2 separate regions of the Homo sapiens genome follow, and region 2 is linked to region 1. The links are contacts of gene promoters, found by promoter capture Hi-C in blood cells and fetal thymus (Javierre and others, 2016). All regions are on one chromosome and are shown on one strand. The core of a region is centred on a gene start or on the middle of the fragment in contact, and the rest is flanking DNA. Distances in the headings are between cores, read along the strand shown.

Region 1 (5,209 bases), core at 1-2,500:
CGAGAAAGAGGTTGAAGTTCTTGAAGATGCAGCCGCACGTGGGGTGCTCGGGGCAGAGGACGATGAGTGTGAGATGCAGGAAGAAGGGGCCCCAGCAGAGGAAGAAAATGCCCAGCAGGATGGTGAGGGTGACAGCGCCTTTAAGGCCAAAGCCCTGGTGGACCGGGCGCTGCCTCTTGTGGAGCCGGGCGATGCCCTGGGCGTGCTGGCAGGCCCGGGCCAGCATGTGGACGTACAGCACGGCCATGAGCACCAGCATAGCCAGGAAGAAGACCACGAGGCACAGCAGGACGGCCACGTGGTCGTAGTAGGCGATGAAGAGCGTGCTGAAGACGACACTGGCCACCCAGATGGCCGCAACGGCTCGCCGCGCCCGCGGCAGGGTCACGATGCTGTGGTAGCGCAGTGCGTAGAAGATGGAGATGTAGCGGTCCACGGCGATGGCGCCCAGGAAGCAGAGGCTGGACAGCATGGAGCTGCAGGTGATCACGTCAATGACATTGTCCAGCTGCTGCAGCACCGCAGCCCGGGCCACCAGTGCACCGGCCTCCAGCAGGAGGATGACGGCCGTCTCCAGCACGTTGCTCCCGCTCACCAGCAGGTCCGACAAGGCCAGGCAGCAGATGAAGCAGTACATGGGTGAGTGCAGGTTCCGGTTCTTGGCGATGGTGGCCACCACCAGCGCGTTCTCCACCAAGCTCACCAGCCCCAGGCTGAGGAAGAGCCCGTCAGAGATGGACACCTCCAGGCACCGGGCTCCTGTCTGGTTGGCAGCCAGCCCCAGCTGGGGGATGGCTGTGGGGGTGGAGTTGAGGGAGCCCAGAAGTCTTCTCTGGGATCCCTGCACAGCCATAGTCCTGTCCAGGAAGCAGGAAGGAGTCGTTGGAGGCCTCCAGGTCCCCACAGTTCTTCCCCTCCAGGTGTCCTGCTTAGTTCATGGTGCTGCCAGGGGGCCTTGGGTGTCCCCCATGCCTGCCTCCTTCCATCTGGGCACCCCCAGATCTGCCCTCACACCCTCTCCCTGGCTGGACAGGTCAGCCCAGGCATGGCCCAGCCAGTCCAGACACCTCCTGGCATCTACCGCCTGGGCTCAGGGATTCTCACAACCAAGCCTGGTCCTCAGCTCCCTCCCTGCCTCTTCCCTGGTGGCTGCTGCTCAGGTCCCCAGGACATTTCGACACCTCTGGACCGTCCTGGCCTCTGTCTCCTGCCTTCCTGGGCCAGGGCTGCGCTGAGGTCCTGGGAAGAATGGAGCTTTTCTCTGCGTTTTAAAAAGTCGTTCTCAGAGCCCCTCCCACTGAGGGCGGCCACATGCCGGGGGCGTGAGCACCCACCATGGCCCGGCCTGCCACCAGGCGGCGTGCAGGACCCAGGGGGTCCCTCACACCGCGGATCTCCTTTACGTTAAAAAACACCACAGTCTGTCCTGGTCACCAGGGCCCCCACCTGGCCGCCCCTCTAGGAGTCCGGAGCTTCCCCGGGACCTGCCCTCTCCAGAGGCCCCACCCTTCACCCCTCCCCTCGTCAGCAGCTCAGGGAGGACAGGGGTCCCCTCTGCTCTCAGCCAAAGCACGCATGGAGCAGCAACTCAGCTGTCAACGTTCACGGCAGATTTGGGGGCTGGACCAGGGAGAACTTTCCAATAATTAAAGTTCTGGAAACTGAGTGAGCCCTGCAGGAGTTTGCACATCGCGCGGGGTGAGGGGGCTTCCGGCCAGGGCAGAGCGTGAAAGCGTCCAATGCTAGTGAGCCCTGGAGAGGTTGGTGTTTTCAGGCATCTTGTAGAGCCTGAGGCCACTCTGGCGCCTGCCCCCAAGGGCCCAGCCTCGCCCAGCCAGAGTGGCGACCCCCTCAGCTGCAGCCCTGGGGCTGTGGGGGTGTCGCTTCCTGGGAGCGGACCGGCTGGGGGCACCCTAGTGAGGTCTTCAGGGACCCTCCAGTCATCTCGTCGCTCATCCTCACAGGGGCACCCGGGACGCTGCTCCCGCCCTCCCCGGGCGGCGCGCCATTTCCGCTGCGGAAGGCACCACAGGCCCTGCACCAACAGCCACATCAAAGGCAGACCTCTCGCCTCCAGCCGTCGCACGTGGTGCTCCGCAGGCCGTTCACAGCAGTCGGGCGTGGCCCCGAAGCCCAGCAGGGACGGTGGAGAGGGGCCCTGGCACCCACTGCAGGCATCTTCCTGGGTTCACTCCAGGGCGTTCCCAGCACTTCCTTGCTGAAGACTGCGTCTGTGCTGAAGGGTGGAAGCGGGAGGGGGATGGAATTACTCGTCCCATTTACAGCTGCAGGAAAGGAGGCAACGGTGCAGGCACCGCATCAGGGTTTTCAGTTTTGTGTCTGCGATGTTCGAGTTAAAATCCATCCTGTCTCTCGCCCAACTGCCAAACTCTGACCATGAAATGCTCACACCACTCACAAGCCACCTCCATGTGTGTGAGGACATTAATATTTTTCATATTTACTGGTACAGTAAATACTTGTTACAACCGCATTTTACAATTTATAAATCTTTAGTTTTGCTTTAAAATTTTTTATTATTGTCAGCCATGGTGGCTCAGGGCTGTAATCCCAGCACTTTGGGAGCCCAAGGCGGGTGGATCACCTGAGGTCAGGAGTTCGAGACCAGCCTGGCCGACATGGAGAAACCCCGTCTCTACTAAAAATACCAAAATCAGCCAGGTGTGGTGGTGGGTGCCTGTAATCCCAGCTGAGTCAGGATAATAGCTTGAACATGAGAGGCGGAGGTTGCCGTGAGCCGAGATTGCACCATTGCACTCCAGCCTGGGCAACAAGAGCAAAACTCTGTCTCAAAAAAAAAAAAAATTATTATTGCCGGGCACAGTGGCTCACCCCTATAATCTCAGCACTTTGGGAGGCTGAGGCAGGCGGATCATGAGGTCAGGAGTTCAAGACCAGCTTGGGTAATATGGTGAAACTCCATCTCTACTAAAAATACAAAAATCAGCCAGGCGTGGTGGCGCACGCCTATAATCCCAGCTACTTGGGAGGCTGAGGCAGAATTGCTTGAACCCAGGAGGCGGAGGTTGCAGTGAGCCGAGATCACACCACTGCACTCCAGCCTGGGAAACAGAGATACAGTCTCAAAAAAAAAAAAATATATATATATATATATATACATATAATTTTTATGTATTTATTTATTTTGAGACAGTTTCACTCTGTCGCGCAGGCTGGAGTGTAGTGGTGCATTCTTGGCTCACTGCAACCTCCACCTTCTGGATTCAAGCAATACTTATGCCTCAGCCTCCCAACTAGCTGGGACTACGGCACCCACTACCACACCTGGCTATTTTTTGTATTTTTTGTAGAGATGAGGTTTCACCATGTTGACCAGGCTGGTCTTGAACTCCTGACCTCAGGTGATCGGTCCGCCTCAGCCTCCCAAAATGCTGAGATTACAGGGATGAGCCCCCACACCCCATCTGCTTTAATTTTTTTTTTTTTTTTTTTGAGACGAAGTCTCACTGTCACCCAGGCTGGAGTGCAGTGGCATGATCTTGGCTCACGGTAGCCTCTGCCTACTGGGTTCAAGTAATTCTCATACCTCAGCCTCCTGAGTAGCTGGAACTACAGGCGCGTGCCGCCACACCCGGCAAATTTTTGTATTTTTTTTAGTAGAGATGGGGTTTCACCATGTTGGCCAGGACGGTCTTGATCTCCTGACCTCATGATCCTCCCGCCTCCGCCTCCCACAGTGCTGGGATTACAGGCGTGAGCCACCGCGCCCGGCCCTAAAATGTTTTAATTGAGGTACAACATACATGAAAATGCACCAGTGATAAATATGCAGGTTGACGGATGACAGACCTGAACCAGCCACATAAGCAGCACCAGACCAACAGACACAGCGTTCCCACCCGGACGGCTCCAGCGAGCCGCTGCCAGCCCATCTGGCCCATCACGTGAATGGTGTCCCAGTTCACTCTCTCTGGCTGAGATTCGCCTATGCCGGTGGCTGTAACCGTCTGCCTCAGACCGTGGTGTCCACGGCGTGAACAGACCACGTCTGGGTGGCTTCAGACTCCCTATCAACGATACCGTCTGATGGACACAGGTGCGTCTGTGGATTGCCACCCGGGGGACATGGGCAGGGACCTCTCTTCAGCTTTGGGAGACTTGGTCAAACCATCTTCAAATCGGCAGGCCTGTTTCTGTTCACACACGCAGCCCCAGGCTGCTCAGAGGAGAGAGCGCGCCCTGCCCACACCACCACAGGACCTGGTATCCGGCCACAGCCACAGAGCCTCGGCCTCAGCCCAGCCTTTTGCCTCCCATGACCTTTGCCCCCTCACGCTGTGCTTCCAGCATGAGCACAGGGGAGAGAAGGGTCCCAAGGTGTGAGAAGGCCAAGCCTCTGCCTCGGGAAGGAAGACGGCTCCACTGGTGTGAGGGCCGTGGCTGTGTCCCTGCCCCAGGAGCACCCCCGACGTCCACAGCACCTCACAGACCCAGACCCAGAGCCCGCTCACCTCTGGCCATGAACCAGTGAGCAGCCCCTGCCCCAGAGCACTGTCCCCTCACATTTCAAGGACGTTCGTGTTTGCAGCTCCACAATGAGGCCTTTGAGACGGACGGCGGTTAACCCCAGCCTCCACTGCTACCCCCCAGCCCGGGACTTGAAAGGGCATGAGAACTGGGCAGCCTTTTTCGTGCCAAGATGCAGCTGGAGGGCATCGGAAGTGGGGTGACCCTGCCACAGGACTCCCACTGTGGTTCCTCACTGGATGTGCCTGTCGGGGCTTCGTGGGAAGATGAGGCACAGCCGAGCTGCAAAAAGTCAACTTTTTGATGTGTTATGGTCATGGGGGAGATAAATTAGCCTCGGGATGATCTGTGATTAGATGACATCCTACAGCTAATCATATCTCGATTTTGGTCTCTTAGTGCCCCTGGAAACACTGCATGCTGAGTGGCCGGAAGACACGTGGGGCTGGCCCATCCGCTCACCAGGGTCCCCGCCACAGGCAGAGGCACCGTTCCTGCAGAGCACTTTCCATCCAGGTGTTTCTGGACCAGCGACCCACGAGGAGAATGAAGACAGACGTCTTCCTGCGTTTATTCAGTGTCTGGCATCCAGGGCCTGCAACACACACACAGGCACACACACACACACAAATGTGCACCCACACACACAGGCACACACACACACAAATGTGCACCCACACACACAGGCACACACACACAG
Region 2 (5,209 bases), core at 1,140-3,639, 210 kb after region 1:
GGCCCCCTGTCCCGTAGGACTGGCCGAAGCACTGGAAGGCCAAGCTCAAGAGGAATCCGGGGGACCTGTCACTCGTGACCAGCCTGGTCTCACACCTGCTCAGGTAGCTGGGCCTTCAGGCCCCACAGAGCCCCTGCGCACCGGCCTTGGGCACCTCTGCCTGGTGCCAGGTGCCGGAGAGGGGCTGGACTGACACAGGGAGCCTGTGCCCGGCCACGTGGACACTGCAGCTCCCTTTGCGCTGAGGGCGTTTCCTCGGCTTCTCCAACCTCCCCAGCGGGGGCGGGGGGCAGACTTTCCAACATTCACTGTCAGGAGGTAATGCAAGTCGCTTCTCTGAAACCGGGCATAGCGCGGCACCTGTGGATGCCACGGAGAGGCCGAGGCTGGCCGCGTTCTCACGTCCTCTTCTCCCGCAGCCTCCCCGACCACCCGATCGCGCAGCTCCTGAGGCGGCTGCAGTGCTCCGTGTACAGCGCCCTGTATCCCGCCGTGAGCAGAGCAGCCGCGCCAGCCCCAGGCTGCTGCCCCCCGACCCCCAACCCCGGAAGCCGACGGCTGCGGCCCTCGCAGAGCCTCCATTGCATGCTGTCCCCGCCCGAGCCCAGCGCAGCCCCGCGGCCCCAGGACAGTCCCCCCACGCCCCCACTCCAACCCGGCCCCGTGGGGTCTCCCTCACCCCTGGGGGACACCGCATCTGGATTGCCAGACAAGGACAGCTCGTTCGAGGACCTGGAGCAGTTCCTGGGGACGTCTGAGCGGCAGGGCCGGGGCCGTGGGGTACAGCCGGAGCCCCAGCTGCAGCAGCTGAAGACCGCGGTGGAGGAGATCCACAATGCCGTAGGTGAGGCCAGGCCCTCCCTGGGAGAGCCGCCGCAGCTCTTCACCCCTGCTTATTGGTCCGTTTCAAGCTTCTGTTTGGGGAAGGGTCTGTTGATCAGAGACTCTGATCAGACTTACATCCACCCAGCTCACGCCTCAGCCCTTCTCATTTTGGAAACAGTGTGGTAGAAACGGAGTTTCACCATGTTGGTCAAGCTGTTCTCAAACTCCTGACCTCAGTTGATCTGCCCACCCCGGCCTCCCAAAGTGCTGGGATTACAAGCATGAGCCACCGCGCCCAGCCCAGAGTTTTCTAAGAACCACTGAGGGAGGCCCAACAGTCCAGGCGTCATTCTCACTGTGCTGCCCACACACTAAGGAACTTGGTCAGGGTCCCCACCCACAGGGGGTTGGATCTAAAGTCTTCCCTGGTTCCTGCAGTTTTGGGTAAAGCCCCTTTTGAGAAAAGGATCATTCTCCGGTTTCTTCTCAGGCTGCTGGCCCAACAGGGCAGCAGCTGTAGGTGACCGTTTCCAGTCCCGGACTCCCTGCCCTGGGCCGAGGAGGGTCAGGGGTGGGTGCAGGAGGCTTGAAGGCGGTGGAAAGAGGTTTCTTGGGCGGAGAAAGGCCCCGTGGCTTAGAGCCACTTGACCCAGCAGGGGAGGAGCCTCTGTGGACGTCCCCGGCTCTGTTCCTAGCAGACAGGCTGCTCTCGCTGACCCTTCTGGCCTTCGAAGGCCTAAACACAGCTGCCTCCAAGGACCGCTGCCTGGCCTGCATTGAGGAACCCTTTTTCTCCCCGCTGTGGCCTCTGCTGCTGGCCCTGTACAGGTATGGACCCAGCTGTACAACCACCTGCGTGGCCTAGTGTCTTCCAGCCCAGTCCCCCAGGAGGCCTGCCCTGCTCCCTGGCACTGTCTGCTCCCCTCCATCCCCAAGACTCGTGTTTGCTCCCCCTAGCCTGTGCTTTACCCTGAGGCCATCCTCAGGGGCTTCCAGTTTGCAGGTAGGATTATTGCCACTCTCCCGTGCCTGGGGTCTTGGCAACGCTGGGGCTTTTTGCTTGAGATACATAGCCAGTTTTCTCCAGGACTGAGCTCCAGCCACAGCCCTGCTTCTGTCCCCAGGGCAAGGTCCCTGGGGCAGCTTAGCCTGGCCTCTCTCTGCCCCAGGAGCGTGCACCGAGCCCGGGAGGCTGCCCTGAGCAGGAGCATGGAGCTCTACAGGAATGCACCCCCCACCGCCATTGGCATCCCCACCAAGCTCCTCCCCCAGAACCCTGAGGCCAAGGGGGCCACTGGCTACCCCTACTGCGCGGCGGCCCAGGAGCTCGGACTGCTGGTCCTGGAGAGCTGCCCCCAGAAGAAGCTGGAGTGCATAGGTCAGCAGGTTCGAGAGTCAGGGGGAGGGACAGGCTCCCATCCCAGTAGGTGACCTGGAGCCTGTGTCTTCACCACTGAGCTTCTCTTGTCACGTGCCGGTGGGGAGGTTGGGGGACCAGAACAAAAGTGGTGTCTGAGCAACATCGCCAGGGTCACCGTGGCTCTTCCCAGCCGTGCACATCAGGAGGTGGGTGGGTGGGCGGGGTATAAGGGGTGGCTCAGGCTGCTGGACGGGGTTAACTGCCCCTGAAACCCTGTCTGGGGCGCAGTGCGGACCCTGCGGATCATCTGTGTCTGTGCGGAAGACTACTGCCCCACCCCAGAGGCCACACCCCAGGCCGGGCCCCCGCCCATCGCTGCAGCTGCCATGTGAGTCCCAGGAGGGCGAGGTGTGGCCAGGGAGGAAGGGCCCTAGAAAGGCAATGGTCACGGGAGGGACTATCTTCCTGCCCCTTAGCCTTGTGCCAGCTGGCTGCACTGTAGAAGCAGGAGGGCCGTGTGGGCCCAGCCCTGGCTCCGCAGTACGGGAGCTCCCTTTAGGGACAGCCTCACCATGCCCAGCTGCCTTCCGGTGCCTCTGCGCAGAAGGGCACAGAGATGGCGGCCAGCACGGCCAGGATGGCTCCACAGCTGCTGGGTTTGCGGAGTGAGAGGCTCCTGGCCCCAACCCAAGGCCGCTATGCCCTCCCGACAGTGGTGCCGATGACCTGCTGCCCATCCTGTCCTTCGTGGTGCTGAGGAGCGGCCTCCCTCAGCTGGTGTCGGAGTGCGCGGCCCTGGAGGAGTTCATCCACGAGGGGTAGACCCTGGCGGGTCAGGGTGGGGGTCTCTGTGCGAAGAGCAGGGACCTCATCCCTCAACCTAAACGGTGGTTGTCAGTAGCAGCTGGGGAGGGTAGCGTGTGGCTCCGTCACAGCCATGCCTTCGGGCAGCCCCTGTGGGTCCACCTGTGCAGAGTGCCTGCTGCCACATGTCCCGTGGCCCTTCGCTTAGCTCAGCCTCTCCCAGACAGCAGGAGCTGGGGGCTGTCCCCTGAGCAGCATCTGCCTGGGGAGGGGATAAGGATCCAGTGCCATCCCTGGCTCTACCGTCCAAGGACGAGCACATAGTGGGTGGGAAAGGCCTCCTCTAGCCCAGCCGCCCTGACAGCCCCACCTGCCCACCCTCAGCACCCAGGTCCTGAACTGGGAGGGCAGACACTACCTTCTGGAGGGCCGGGGGTATCCTTCTGTTCGTTCAGATGACACCGGCTGCCCCTGCCATCCATGCAGGTACCTGATCGGAGAGGAGGGCTACTGCCTCACATCACTGCAGAGTGCCCTGAGCTACGTGGAGCTGCTGCCCCGGGGAGGCCTGGCCAAGTAGTACAGCTAGAGCCCAGGGTCCCTGCAGGGCCTGGCCTCGCCTCCCAGGGCTGTCTCTCCTACACCTGGAGCCATGGGATCTACTGAGGACCATCCTGGAGCCTCACGCTGCTCTGCACATGGTGGGGGCTTGTCCACTGTGGTGTGCTCTCCAGCTCTTCACCTTCCTCACCTCACATCTGACCCTGGAGCTTGGGGTTGGCACCTCTGCCCCGACAGAATGGGGCTGAATCAGCTCCAGGAGGAACCAGGCCCTGCTCTCCTGTGTAGGCCTCAGAGAGGCCAAGAAGGGAAGCTTTGGGCTTCGGTGGGTGCAGGCTCAGCGATGAACATCTGGCTGGGGCAGCTCCTGGGGAGCATCAGGGAAGAGGGGGCCATGAGCCGGCCAGCAGTGGAGACGGCAGTCCAGTTTCTCTCCCCTCTGACCCCTAGAAGGGGAGTTGTAGCCCCATGAACTAGTTTCTTGTCTGGGTCAGGAACAAGGGCCGGCTGGGGCCTGGGGTGCAGCTGGTGTCAGGGTATGCTGTTTGCTGATGGGCAGGGACACCCCTGCAGGGTCTCGGGCTCTGAGCCCAGGACATTCCCTGCCCCTTACTCACCTTGGCTGTGGGCTGTGAACATTCCGGGACCCTGGGCATCTTATCTAGGTCCGTGCAGCCCAAGGGTCAGCCCTCTTGACTGTCACATGCTGCCCCCACCCAGCCTAAAATAAAGAGCTCACTGCTGTGCTTCGCCGTGTGGCTCCCTCAATCCCCACCCCACTGGCCAGGCAGCACAACCACCCCTGCTGCCCATGGCAGAGGCCGCTGAGGATGTGGGGGACGAGCCACAGCCCAGCCCCAAACCAAGCCTGGCCCAACCTCTTGAACATCTGCCAGCCTCCGAGACCCTCTGCATAGAAGCAGGGTCCTCTTGGGGCTGTGCCTGGCCAGGCAGGTGTGGGCTTCACCCTCTTGGACAGGAGAGCTCTGCAGGGCATCAGTGGGTGGGAAGGGTGGGGTGAGGCTGGGGTCCAGGTCATCACTGGGGACCTGAGCCCAGAGCAGTCACCCGAGGGTCTCAGGAATCATCGTTCTGTGCATGGCGACACACACATGCTCTGAGGTGCACAGAAGGCTGCCGGGCGTGGACAGCATCTGCCAGGGCGGTGTGGGCAGATCAGGATGGAGGGCTCTTCTGCAAGAAAGGCACCCCTGGCACCTTGAGATGCCATGAGGAGGCAGGTGGCAGGGCTGGTGGGGTGGGAGGTCCCAACCCTAGATGCTACCAGGAGCTGGCTGGGGGGCAGTGTTGCTGTTCTCAGGGAAACAGTCTTAAAAGCAGTAGCTGTGGACCTCGGTGGGATGCTCTGTGCTTGCACCCTGAGCAGGGGCTGGTTTACCCGCCAAGGACCCCATAGGGAGACAGAAGTGTCTCTCTGGGTGGGGCAGAGCTGGAGCATCTGCCCCAGCCCTCGATACGAACCCCAGCTGGCCACGGTGCCTTGGAGCTTGGGCTGCTCCGGCCTCAGCGTTGGTGTCTAGAAGATGGGATTTTAAAGTCCGCTTCATAGAATGGTGGAGATGAGCTGTGTCTTGAACAAATCCTGGCGTGGGAGCCCCTGCTGGCTTGGCATCGGGGCCACACCTGCAGCCTGCACAC

The links. Contacts are between HindIII fragments. The CHiCAGO score rates a contact against its expected background, and 5 or more counts as called.
Region 2: a contact is called between a fragment that was not itself captured here and the fragment with the promoter of MC1R in region 1, in 1 of 17 cell types (M0 macrophages). The highest score is 5.5, in M0 macrophages.

The regions. Positions count from the first base shown.
Region 1 is chr16:89,914,903-89,920,111 of GRCh38, reverse strand. MC1R (melanocortin 1 receptor) reads right to left here and starts at 1,250. Exons shown (of 1, transcript NM_002386.4): 1 at 1-1,250. The coding sequence starts at 853. LOC124903759 (keratin-associated protein 5-1-like) reads right to left here. Exons shown (of 4, transcript XM_047435031.1): 2 at 4,972-5,209; 3 at 2,065-2,236; 4 at 1,142-1,261. The coding sequence ends at 1,157. RefSeq lists enhancers at 1-711, 1,310-1,359, 712-1,595, 1,596-2,481 and a silencer at 529-810. The HindIII fragment of the contact is 10,478 bases long and covers 1-5,209 here.
Region 2 is chr16:89,706,221-89,711,429 of GRCh38, reverse strand. VPS9D1 (VPS9 domain containing 1) reads left to right here. Exons shown (of 15, transcript NM_004913.3): 9 at 18-103; 10 at 420-844; 11 at 1,524-1,653; 12 at 1,995-2,203; 13 at 2,474-2,573; 14 at 2,899-3,003; 15 at 3,476-4,296. The coding sequence ends at 3,569. Among named protein-coding and RNA genes, the nearest start is that of VPS9D1-AS1, 3.0 kb to the left of the region's middle. RefSeq lists enhancers at 180-743, 4,543-5,043, 5,021-5,200. The HindIII fragment of the contact is 2,952 bases long and covers 914-3,865 here.